2 separate regions of the Homo sapiens genome follow, and region 1 is linked to region 2. The links are contacts of gene promoters, found by promoter capture Hi-C in blood cells and fetal thymus (Javierre and others, 2016). All regions are on one chromosome and are shown on one strand. Each heading gives the region's core, a stretch centred on a gene start or on the middle of the fragment in contact. The rest is flanking DNA. Distances are from core to core; before and after follow the strand shown. Region 1 overlaps GARIN1B (golgi associated RAB2 interactor 1B). Region 2 holds the start of GARIN1A (golgi associated RAB2 interactor 1A).

Region 1 (5,965 bases), core at 187-2,686, 59 kb after region 2:
GCCCTCTTTTCCCAACTGGGCTGAGCAAAACCATGATGTGTGGCACCTCCAGGGCCCCCAGAGTTCCCCCAGATGCTGTTGACGCTATAGCTGCTTTCTCTTGCTGTATGGGAGGTGTAAGGGATCTCCTCTGCAGACTCCCCATGTGGTCTTTCCTCTCTTTTCCTTTCCTGGAGCTCTTGAAGGGCCTTCTTACTGCTTGGGTTGGGATGCAGAGAGTGAAAAGGAAGTAGGTTAAGGGGGCTGGGGTGGGGTCAGACCTCCCTAAGGTCCCAGTCCTTCTGTCTTCATGCTCAAGGCCCATTCGTCCATCCACACATTCATTTAACAAACATTTGTGAAGTACTTCCTATGTGCCTCTGTTTGACCAGAGATAGATTTCCCTAAAAGGGAGGGGTGATTTCTGTTTTCTAAAGTAAAATGTCATGAATAAACCACCAACTCTTTTTTTTTTGAGACGGAGTCTCACTCTATCACCCAGGCTGGAGTGCAGTGGCATGATCTTGGCTCACTGCAACCTCCGCCTCCCAGGTTCAAGTGATCCTCCTGCCTCAGCCTCCTGAGTAGCTGGAATTACAGACATGCACCACCACGCCCAGCTAATTTTTGTATTTTTAGTAGACACAGGGTTTCACCATGTTGGCCAGTCTTGTCTCGAACTCTCGACCTCAGAACTCTCAACCTCAGGTGATCTGCCCACCTTGGCCTCCCACAAAGTGCTAGGATTACAGGTGTGAGCCACTGGGCCCGGCCACCACCAACCCTTATAAGATACCTATTATAGATAGTTGACAATTTTTTTAAATTAGCATAAGTATCTGTGTGCCCACAAAAGAGCTTTTTAGGTAATTTATATCCTATCAAACACTTTTCTCTCCTACACTCACAGGAAATTCTATTTGAGCCACCCTTCCGCACTGGGGAGAATCTATGCAAGCCTCGTCAACACCACTTTGCAGCATTCAGCTGCTGAGGGATTATCGGGATGGAGAGTAGGAGAAAACTGCAACCAAGGAAGAATAGAGTCATCTCACGGTGACAGCAGAGCCTTTCCAGCTGTACATAACCACGTCCTCGCCACTGCACCTCGGCATATGCCACCTCCATGCCACTGCCAGAGCTGGCCTAGCAAGATGTGCTCTCAGAATGGCCGGGCCCAAGAGATGAAGGAAAGGAGTGAAAGGGAAGTAGGACCAGAGAAGTGGAAGGAAGCAAAATGGAGGTGATGAGAAAGGTGGTGGGAGAAAGTCAGCAGATGAGAGACACAAAGAGAAGTGGTAATAGGAAACGGAAGAGACTTGGTAGACGAGATAAGGAGGACAAGAGAAGGGACACACCCCTGAGAGATGCTCACCAAGCTTCTATTTATCTAATTTAAAACTTGAAAGTAAAGCCATAAACAAAAAAAAGAAATGTTTTCTTCCCTGCTCAGACCATTCTGGACAAATGTGAACTGCCAGACACCTTCCATTTCCCTTTCTATCTGTTTTTCTTGCTAGTTCCTGTCTTCTGATTAAAGCTTCATTCCTTCTTTGTTGGCCTGTTCCCTAACTTGGACTTGCTAGCCCTGTTGTTCCTAATAGAGGTTTGGGTTTGAGCTGCAGAAAGGTTCTTATAGGAGGTAGTAAGACAAGGTGTGTAAGGTAGGGCGAATTTCTCTTTTGTGTTCAAATTCCCTAAGTTTGCTATTATCTCCGTGCCGCAAACACTGGCTCAACTTCTTTTTTGTATAACACTCCCTTGAAATGTCGACATACCTTGTTAGTGCTTTTTAAATTAGAGATTCCAGAGATAGGAGATATAGGCTCAACATACAGGTTAATCAGAGGTTTACCAATTATAGATGAAGGGAGTCATGAAGGAGTGTTTGTCAGATGGTCTATGGACTGGCCTCTTTGTTTAAAATGTGCAATAGTGTCAGGAGCAGTAGCTCGTGCCTGTAATCCCAACGCTTTGGGAGGCTGAGGCAGGTGAACCACTTGAGCCCAGAAGTTTGAGACCAGCCTGCGAAACATGGCGAAAACCCATCTCTGCCAAAAATACAAAAAAATTAGCCAGGAGTGGTGGTGTGTGCCTGTAGTCCCAGCTACCAGGCAGGCTGAGATGGGAGGATTGCTTGAGCCCAGGAGGTCGAGGCTGCAGTGAGCAATGAGTGTGCCACTGCACTTCAGCCTGGGTGACAGAGTGAGATCCTGTCTCAAAAAAAGAAAAATTTCACATTTAATGAGAAACAGACTATGAGTATTTCAGGAAAGCTGTCCATCCCCCAGCTGGGGAGGGTATTTTGATTTGACTTAAGATATCCTAGCAGCATCTTTTTCCTCACTTAACTAGTTTTCAGCCTGAAATTGTTAGAAGGCTAAAAAATAAGCTCCTGGATCACCATTACTCAAAGGCTGAGTTATGTCCTAATTCTTAGTGATTTCAGCATCCACATGGATGATCCTTCCCATACTTTGATCTCTGTTCCCTGAACTCCTGCCTTCCAGCAATGCTTTTTCCACCCTCCTCGACCACTGTCTCCCTTGATTTTACCCTAGTGTTTGTCATTAATAACTGCACCTAACCCCATTATTTCCACTCCCTAGCTATAACACCTCCTATTTTTTCCTGAGTCCAATAATCCATTGACCCACCAATCCTACAATCTATTGCTTCTACCAGGTTTTCACTGTTCCTCGCTCTCTTCATGTTCTCATTTCCTTCCCCTGTAACCTAGATTATCTGTGATCAGTCATTATTATTATCACTTCCTGGCATGCATTCTCAACATCTTTGTGACTCTCTCACTTTCTTCCCTTGGCTAAATTCAGTTCTCTACCAGCTCCATGCCTGTGTGATGCTGCTGAACTTGCCACTGAACCTCTCTGGAGAAGATCACATGACATACTAACCAGTCTCCCTGCAAAGTCATCATCATGGCCTCAAGGGGGTCCTTGATGTTGCCTGGAAATCATCATGTGTTCTCCTAAATCTGTTCACTCTGCTGAATGGCTATTTCACACCTCTCTCCTCTAACTGCCAATGCCTCCTCCTGATGACCCTGCTTCCTATTTCACTGAGAACATAGTCAGAATTGAAAGAGAATTTCAGGCTCTCACCACCATATCTACCAATTACCTAGATCCAGACCCATTGACTCTAGCTTCTCTCTTTGTTACTATGGAGGAACTGTCTCTCCAAGCAGAGTCCAGCTCTTCCCCTTTTGTAGTAGATCCCATTCCATCTCACCCAAATATGTCACACCAGCAACTTTTCCTTTTTCCTACGTCATCAGTTTGATCTCTACTTCCAGATCCTTCCCATCAGCAACGAACATACTGGCATGCCTCCTAAACATACTTATTTCTTACAATAAAAACAGAACAAAATAAAACAAAACCTCTCTTGGCCCCTCTGCCTCCTTGCTCCAGTTTTCTCCACCCCTTTACAGAAAACTCCATGAAAGGGAACCAACTTTTAAAAATCTCCATTGTCTCTTGAAGTCCTTCAACCAGGTTTTTGCATTCACTACCTTGACAAACCTGTCAAAGATTCCCACACTGCTAAAGCCCATGGCCAACTGGGCCCCACCTCACTGTCAGCAGCATGCTTTCTCCCTGAACCTTTTCTTCACTTGGCTTCCAGGACACTCTCCTGGCTTTCCTTCTCCCTCATTGACCTTTTTCTCAGTTCCTTTGCTGATTCATTCTCATCAACACCCCCCAATCATATCTGAACATCAGAAATTCCCAGGATTCAGTCCTTAAGTCTCTTGTAATCAAAACACACAGATTTCATGCCACAAATATACTCGTAAATTTATATATTTAGTCCAGACCACCATGTACTCGAGATACATATCCAACTGCCTAGTCGATATCTCTACTTGAATGTCTAATATGTATCTCAACATGCCCAAAACAAATCTCTCAATATTATCCCTCAAATTAGCTGGGTGTGGTGGTGCATGCCTGTAATCCCAGCTACTCGGGAGGCTGAGCCAGGAGAATCACTAGAACCCAGGAGGCAGAGGTTGCAGTGAGCTGAGATCACACCACTGTACTACAGCCTGGGCGACAGAGCGAGACTCTGTCTCAGAAAAAAAAAAAAATTATCCCTCAAAACTTTGTTCTCTCTAAAGTCTTCTCCATCCTAATAAGCAGAAGCCTCATTTTTCTACTTGCTCAAAACCCTGGAGTCATCCTTAACTCCTCTCTTTCTCTCCACCCTATTTCCAACCCATTAGGAAATCCTTTCAAACTACTTTCAAAATATATTCAGAATTTGATATTCTCACTACTTCCACTGCTACCAACCTGGACCAAACCATCATCATCACTCACCTGGATTGTTGCAAACACCTCCTAAATGCACTCCGTTCCTAACCTTACTCCCTTTCAGTCTAATGTGATCCTTTAAAAATCTTAGATCATGTTTCTTCTCTGCTCAAAACCTTCCAATGGTTTCCCTTCTGTATTAGTTAAGGCAATGCTAGCTCTGAAAGAGATAAATCCTAATATATCAATGGCATAAAATAGCTAATAGAAGTTCTACTTCTCATTCACAAAGAGTCCAAAAATGGTGTTCCTGGTTCAAAAACTGAGTGGCAGTTTCACAGGAACCTGGGCTTCTTCCATCTTGTGGCTCTGCCATCTGCAATACACAGCTTCTAGCCACAGAAAGAGAATGAGCTTGGAGAATTACACATGGCAGGTCTGTATGGCCAGTACTGGAAGTAGTGTACAACATCTCCACCCTCCTTCCTTCAGTCAGAGCTCAGTCATATGACCATACTGGAAGGGAGGCTGGGAAATGTAGTCTAGCTGGGTTCACAGAAAGAAGAAGAAACAATTTAGCAAATAGTCAGTCTTCATATCCTCTCACTCATCATAGCGAAAGCTAAAGTCCTTGCAATAGCCTAAAGGCCCTACATGGTGTCCCTCTCTCCCTCCCTCATTCCTGTTGCTCCCTCTCTGACCTCATGTCCTCTACTCTCCTTGCTACTGTACTGCAGTCCCACTGGCTTCCAGTTGCTCCTCAAACACTTCAAACATACTCCCAACTCAGGGCCTTGCCTTGGTGTTCCCTTTTCCTGGAATGTTCACCACCTTCAGATGTTCACTCACGTGTCACCCTCTCATGAGCTTCCCTGGCCACCTTTTCTGAGATGGCAACGCCACTCCTGATAGTCCCAACACTCACTGTTCTCCTTTCCTGCCTTATTTTTCTCCTTATGTAAGCAGACAGAGAGGGTCTGTATTAGTCCATTCTTGTATTGCTATAAAGAAATACCTGAGACTGGGTAATTTACAAAGAAAAGAGATTTAATTGGCTCAGAGTTCTGCAGCTGTACAGGAAGCACAGTGGCTTCTGCTTCTTGGGAGGCCTCAGGGAAATTATGGCGGAAGGCAATGGGGAAGCAGATACGTCTTGCATGGCTGGAGCAGGAGGAAGGGGCGGGGGAGGTGCCACAGACTTTAAATGAACAGATCTCATTAGAAATCACTCACTATACAGTACCAAGCGGGGATGGTGCTAAACCATTCATGAGAACTCCGCCCCATGATCCATTCACCTCCCACCAGGCCCCTCCTCCAATACTAGGGTTTACAACACAGATCCAAACCATATCAGGGTCTCCAGGGATAAAAGGAATTCAATCAACTCGAGCAATCAGCCTGTTTTACAGCCTTCTGCCCTGCAGCCTGTTCTTCCCCAAACCCTGCATGGAATGTGGTCACCTTGTTGGTTTGAACCAGCTCCTTGCAGACCCTGGCAATTTATAGATGAACTGAGTCAACTTTTCCCTTGACCATGCCAAAGTCTCCACCCTAGGAGGAGCTATAGCTTCGTTGCCATAACATGCCACCTATGTTCTGGCATAATGACTCACTCGTTTGTGCCACTGGGACCCCTCCTCTACATGTGATTTTGCACTCTCTCCATCACCCTGTAAAACCCTCCTGTCACTTTCCCCTGGGGA
Region 2 (6,199 bases), core at 271-2,770:
ACTTCTTCGCTAAATTAGGTAAGTCTTCAAATACTGGAAGGCTATTTTCTCAGATTTTTCTATGCCCAAAATATAATAGCTACAGACACATCTTTAAGTTTAATCTGCATAATTAACATTTTCTCTATCACTTTAGTTTAGACAATCAACAGAACAATAAATCAAACCCTGATTTGTAGCACTTGCTGATTTCAAGCTAGCTAACAAGATGAAGTTCCTGAACACACCCTGGGAAGAGATATGCAGCAGCCCACCACTGTATACTGTTTCTTTTCTTTTCTTTTTTTTGAGACAGAGTCTTGCTTTGTCGCTTAGGCTGGAGTGCAGTGGCACCATCTTGGCTCATCACAACCTCCACCTCCCAGATTCAAGCGATCGCCCTGCCCCAGCCTCCCAAGTAGCTGGACTACAGGTACCCACACCACACCCGGCTAATTTTTGTAGTTTTAGTTGAGACGGGGTTTCACCCGTTGACCAGGCTAGTCTCGAACACCTGACCTCAGGCGATCCACCCACCTCGGCCTCCCAAAGTGCTGGGATTACAGTCATGAGCCACCAAGCCCAGCCAAGTTTATATCATTTAAGTTTTAAAGGCTGGGCTTGGTGGCTCATGACTGTAATCCCAGCACTTTGGGAGGCCGAGGTGGGTGGATCGCCTGAGGTCAGGTGTTCCAGACCAGCCTGACCAACATGGAGAAACCCTGTCTCTACTAAAAATACAAAATTATCCGGGTGTGGTGGTGCATGCCTGTAATCCCAGCTACTCGGGAGGCTGAGGCAGGAGAATTGCTTGAAGATGGGAGGCGGAGGTTGTGGTGAGCCGAGATCACGCCACTGCACTCTAGCCTGGGCAACAAGAGCAAAACTCTGTCTCAAAAAAAAAAAAAAAAAAGTTTTAATAATTGCTGTGTTTAACAACTGGTTTGTAGCATTCCTGAAAATGTAACAACCAGCTCTCGTGACCTGTTTTGGTCTGGCTCCAGCATACAACTGTGCCACTGCCTTCTCCTTTGCCCACTGTTTCCAAATAAATAAGCTTCTCAGTTTAGTTAACAGGTGTCCATTTCTTTAAAAAAAAAAAAAAATCTCCTTTTCTCCCATGAGATGGGGTAGGGAAGATGAACTCCCTTTTTCCTATCCTTAGACTTCCCTGGGCAGGTGAACAAGTCCCATGGAAGTTTGGTGAGGGGCTTCAAGGGGAGCCAAGAGGATTAAAGCCTGTATGTTCCCGAGAGCCTTCCTTGCATCTGGCCAGCTCACTGCTGCCTTGGCATAACTTTGGGAGGGTCATTTTTTCCATGTGGGGTAAGGCTGAATGTTTACAAAGTGGAATAGGCTGCATTACTGCTGGTTTGTAGTTGGTGGAAAGAGGGAGAAAAGAGCCTGGCACATCCTCTGTCCTTCCTCTTCTTTTTTTTTTCCCTTTTCTGTTGTCACCATCACATTCCTTGATGTCATTCCTGCCATTGTGAGCTGACAGGCCCTCCCAGCCCTGGTGGACAGCCCGTAAGTAAATGGGGAGGAAATGCTGGGGAGGTGGGGGCAGATCACATCAACATCCTGGCATTGGGCTGGGTCGGCGTGGAGCCCCAGAAATGTTCCCAAGCCCATTCTTACCAAGAACCAATGAGTAAAATCAGGGGCCTCCCACCTGAGGTCAGGGAACCAGGCCCTGGAGTGGAACTTGGGGTGGAAAATGGCCTTCTTTGTCAACTGATTCATTCTCCAGAATTCAATTTGTTCTCCAACTCGGTGGTGTTTGAAAGCAACTTTATCCAGGTACCCTCGTGGAGCTCAGGGCCAGCTGTCTTTCTGTTTCCAAAACCTGTTCCTAGGGGTTGGTTAGGAGATGCTGTGGCCTTTTAAAGCCCTGGGGGAGGGGGGGGCGGGGGGACAAAGAAGCCACCAAAGCTAGAGAAAACCAGAAGGTCTGGGTCCCAAGTTCACCTCCATTTGTGCCTACCGTATGATAGAGCTACCTGCAGGTCATCTGTTCTAGGGAAATTGATTTATGCTTTACAAATGAGAGATCAGAGCTCAGTCTCCAGGCAGGGTTCACAGGCCCTTTCTGGGCCACTTGTCCAAAGTGGATGGTTACAGGGAATGAAGGTTGCTGTTAGAAACTCTGCTCTGAAATCCATCCTCCTCAGTCTGGGATGGTTTAGAAACAGCCTTGTTTGAAAGCAAAGACACTGGGTAAATAGGTGTTGCCCAGATCCTACCATTCCCTAAAAGGATGGTGGTGACATGACCAATGGAAGTGAGCCTGGGATGGGGCCACTGGGAGTGGAAGGTGGTCGTTTTCGTAAGTATCAAGTCTTAACGCGGGTGCTGCCTGCCTCCCTCTAGCGGTCTAGCCTGAACCCATGCTCCTGCGCAGGAGAGCATAACCAGTTAATCAGCCAGTAAGCACACACTAAACATCTACTGAGTGCAGGGCAGGAGGTGCAGAGAAAAATCAGAGTGTCCCTGGCCAGGAAGCCTATGAGTTTGGTTTACCTGTTATTTGGTAACTGTCTAAGCAAGCTCTATGTCAGAGAGCTTGGGCCAGCTGATGCACCAGGCATGACTGCAGAGAGCAGGTGCTGGGGGCATTCATTCAAGGCATTCTCTCTGGACTTTGGCAGTTGAAGAAGGCTTTCCAGAAGGGTCTTAAGCCATTCTTTGAGAGACTGCTGAGATTTTGGTAAGTGGAAGAGCAGCGGGGAGGATATCCCAGACAGAGGGGCTTCAAAGTACCTAAGGAAAGGCAGGGAGGCTGGAATGCAAGGTCTGCAAGACACAGACCCATTCAAATGGAATGGGAAAGTAGCCAGGGGTTATAGGAGAGAAGGTGGGAACAGTTTGAGGTGGGTCTTGGGCTTAATTTGGAGACTCTTCACAGAGCAGCGAGCTGCTCCCTAATGGAGTCCCCGGATTTTGGAGAGCTGTGTTTATGGCTCCTGCCGCTCCACGGTCCCTTTACTGTGCCCCAGGAGATGTGTAGTTGGGTGATCAGCTGGCAAACCTGAGGCGAGCTCATTCCTAACATACCCTTGGTGGAGACAGAGCAATAACATGGGAAGTCCAGTCTCAGGATCCAATTTCTAGTCATTTCTATTTGGGTGTAATGATTCAGCTGCAAATTTCTTCTCTTAATGTGTGCTTTTTTTTTGAGATGGAGTCTCACTCCGTTGCCCTGGCATGGTCTAGGCTCACTGCAACCTCTGCCTCCTGGGTTCAAGCAATTCTCCTATCTCAGCCTCCCGAGTAGCTAGGACCACAGGCGTGCACCACCTCGCCCAGCTAATTTTTTTGTGTTTTAGTAGAGATGGGGTTTCACCATGTTGGCCAAGATGGTCTTGATCTCTTGACCTCATGATCTGCCCGCCTTGGCCTCCCAAAGTGCTGTTTTCTTTGGCCTAATATTAAAACTGTTTAGATTCTCTGAATGGACACTAAGTGACCTGGGTAGCAGCAAACTTAGAATGTGCTAGGGAGAGGCTGACCCGCACAGAAAAGTTCAAAGTTTGATTTTTTAAAAAAAAATTTTTGATAGAGACAGGGTCTCACTATGTTGCCCAGGCTGGTCTTGAACTCCTGGCTTCAAGTGATACTCCGGCTTTGGACTCCCAAAGTGCTGGGATTATAGGCATGAATGACCGCACACAGTCCAAAGTTTACTTGAAGTGATGCAACCCACATATTAGTTATAGTTATAGTTGTTATAGTACAGTTACACTGCTTCCTCTCTCCCCCTTCCTGCACATCACCATCACTATCATCATCTCAAAGCAGCATTACCCACAAACATTTATTGAGCACTTACTCTCAATGTGTACAACCCTTTGTGTTTTGCAGAGGATATGAATTTCATTCCTCAACAAGGGCTCCAAGAAGTGTCACTTTTTTTTTTCAAAATCAAAATTCACTTTTCTGGGAACACCATCTGGTCAGGCTGGTGGGAAATTACATTTCAGTCATCCCTGGGGCTTTCCCTCATCCCCAGTTCCACCAAGGACTGGGCAATGGTGTCGATAGTTTTACAAAGTCTAGAACATTGGCTGGGCATAGTGGCTCATGCCTGTGATCCCAGCACTTTGGGAGGCTGAGAAGGGAAGATCACTTGAGCCCAGGAGTTTGACACCAGTCTGGGCAACATAGTGAGACCCCATCTCTATTTTCTAAAAAAAGTGTAGAGCATTGGGAGAAGGCCCTCTGGCCTTGGGAACATAGGCGTCCCTCCTCATATGTTCCTTATCCAGGTCCCTGTGGCTCCTAAGTGGCCACAGCTCTGGTGCTTTTCTGCCAGCCGTGCACAGTGAGGTGGGGGGTGTCTTAGCTGAGACACAGTGCCCAGTGGTGGGCATCCAGTCTTTCTGTCCTGTGATGGCCGCCTTCTGCTTCAAGAGAATAGGTCCTCATTCCACTCAAGACCCAGCAACAAGATAGCCCCTCCATCATCCTGGGAGAAGTGCTCCAAACCTCCCTCAACTCAAGCTGTCTGGGTCTTCCCCATTCAACAGCTTTTTCCTCACTTTCCTCTCCTTCTGGGACTTTCTTCACACAATCTCCCTTTTGGGCCACTAGAAACCAGTGCTGGCTTCTCCTGCCCAAAGATGGGGGAATGAAAACTTCAGTGCCACTCAGCTTTTTCTTGCTAGTGCATCTTTTTAGTTAGATAAAACAGTTATCTTTTTAGTTAGATAAAACAGAGGACCCAGAGAAGAATGACACAGGGTTCCTGCAGCCAATGACCTTAAAGTGTATTTGGGGAGGCCAATGAAAAGGATCAATAGCAGGTCAGGGCCCAGCCCAGTGTGTGCACACCTGCCCCCAAGATGATGTGCCACTTTCCAGCATCTGTATTCCACCCCTTGTTTTCTGCTCCTTTCTGACCCATGTACCTGAGGCTGATTTCCAGGTCACTAAGCCCGGGAACTGGAGAGATGTCTGTGAAGGGTCTGCCACCGTGATCCTCGGGGTCACCTCCTCGGTGCCCTCCCTGCCACTCCCCAATGTCCTCCTGATGGCCAATGTTACCTGGCCCCAGGGTCCATTTACCACCTGGAGCACACCTGGTGACGCCCCAGTCATCAACCTCAGCAGGTAAAGGCTTGAGGGAGGGCGGGAAGGGATGGAATGATTGACTGGGATATGCATTGCTTTGTAGCTGGATTTTAGATCAAAAGAAAAGATAGCGTTCTTTAGTGCATAAACCCTGTAGAACTCATTCATTCATTTGTTTAGCAACGATTTATTTAGTATCTTTTTTTTTTTTTTTTTTGAGACAGAGTCTCGCTCTGTTGCCCAGGCTGGAGTGCAGTGGCGGGATCTCGGCTCACTGCAAGCCCCGCCTCCCGGGTTCACGCCATTCACCGAGTAGCTGGGACTACAGGCGCCTGCCACCATGCCCAGCTAATTTTTTTTTTTGGATTTTTAGTAGAGATGGGGTTTCACTGTGTTAGCCAGGATGGTCTCGATCTCCTGATCTCGTGATCCACCTGCCTCGGCCTCCCAAAGTGCTGGGATTACAGGCGTGAGCCACCGCGCCTGACCTTATTTATTTAGTATCTATATTTACCAAGCACTGTGCTTCGTGCTGGGATAGGGCAGTACCCAGTCCTTGTCTCGAGCCTGGTTTTTGAGAATCTTGGCTTCCTTTTCTGTAAATGTGTGTGTGTGTGTAAGTGTGTGTGTATATATGTGTGTGTGTGTATATATAGACACGTTTCCATGTCTTTTAAAATCTTTTTGTAAATATCATTTCGATAATTTCTTTAGTAATATGAGTGAATTAAAATTCACTTGACAAGTCCCTAATATTAGACATTTAGAAATGTTTCTTTGTCAATATAGATAGAGGGGGTTTCCAAGGAAAAGGTGGGGATACAAAAGTCAAACACGACTATGAAATGCTGAGATTGAAAAAAAAATACTAGATATACAGGAGACAGCTATCCTTTTCCTTGCCCTTTCGACACAGTAAGTCAGGATATAGGGAGAAAGAGTCCTAGAAACTGAGTCAGGAAACCTTAGTTCCAGGTCACACTTAATAAGATCTAAACTTGGGCAAATCACTTAGCCTCTCTAAGCCTCAGCCTCGAAATCTGTAAAGCGGAATTAATCATACTTATCTTGGCAGGGCACAGTGGCTCACATCTGTAATCCTAGCTCTTTGGGAGGCTGAGGTGGGAGGATCGCTTGAAGCCAGGAGTTC

Evidence for each region. Contacts are between HindIII fragments. The CHiCAGO score rates a contact against its expected background, and 5 or more counts as called.
Region 1: a contact is called between a fragment that was not itself captured here and the fragment with the promoter of GARIN1A in region 2, in 2 of 17 cell types (M1 macrophages and endothelial precursors). The highest score is 5.4, in M1 macrophages.

Annotation. Positions count from the first base shown.
Region 1 is chr7:128,730,211-128,736,175 of GRCh38, forward strand. It overlaps GARIN1B (golgi associated RAB2 interactor 1B), which reads left to right. Exons shown (of 7, transcript NM_001282788.3): 7 at 890-1,533. The coding sequence ends at 903. Among named protein-coding and RNA genes, the nearest start is that of CALU, 6.2 kb to the right of the region's middle. The HindIII fragment of the contact is 161 bases long and covers 1,357-1,517 here.
Region 2 is chr7:128,670,772-128,676,970 of GRCh38, forward strand. GARIN1A (golgi associated RAB2 interactor 1A) reads left to right here and starts at 1,521. Exons shown (of 5, transcript NM_001128926.4): 1 at 1,521-1,779; 2 at 4,904-5,088. The coding sequence starts at 1,627. RefSeq lists a silencer at 2,383-2,442. The HindIII fragment of the contact is 20,881 bases long and covers 1,035-6,199 here.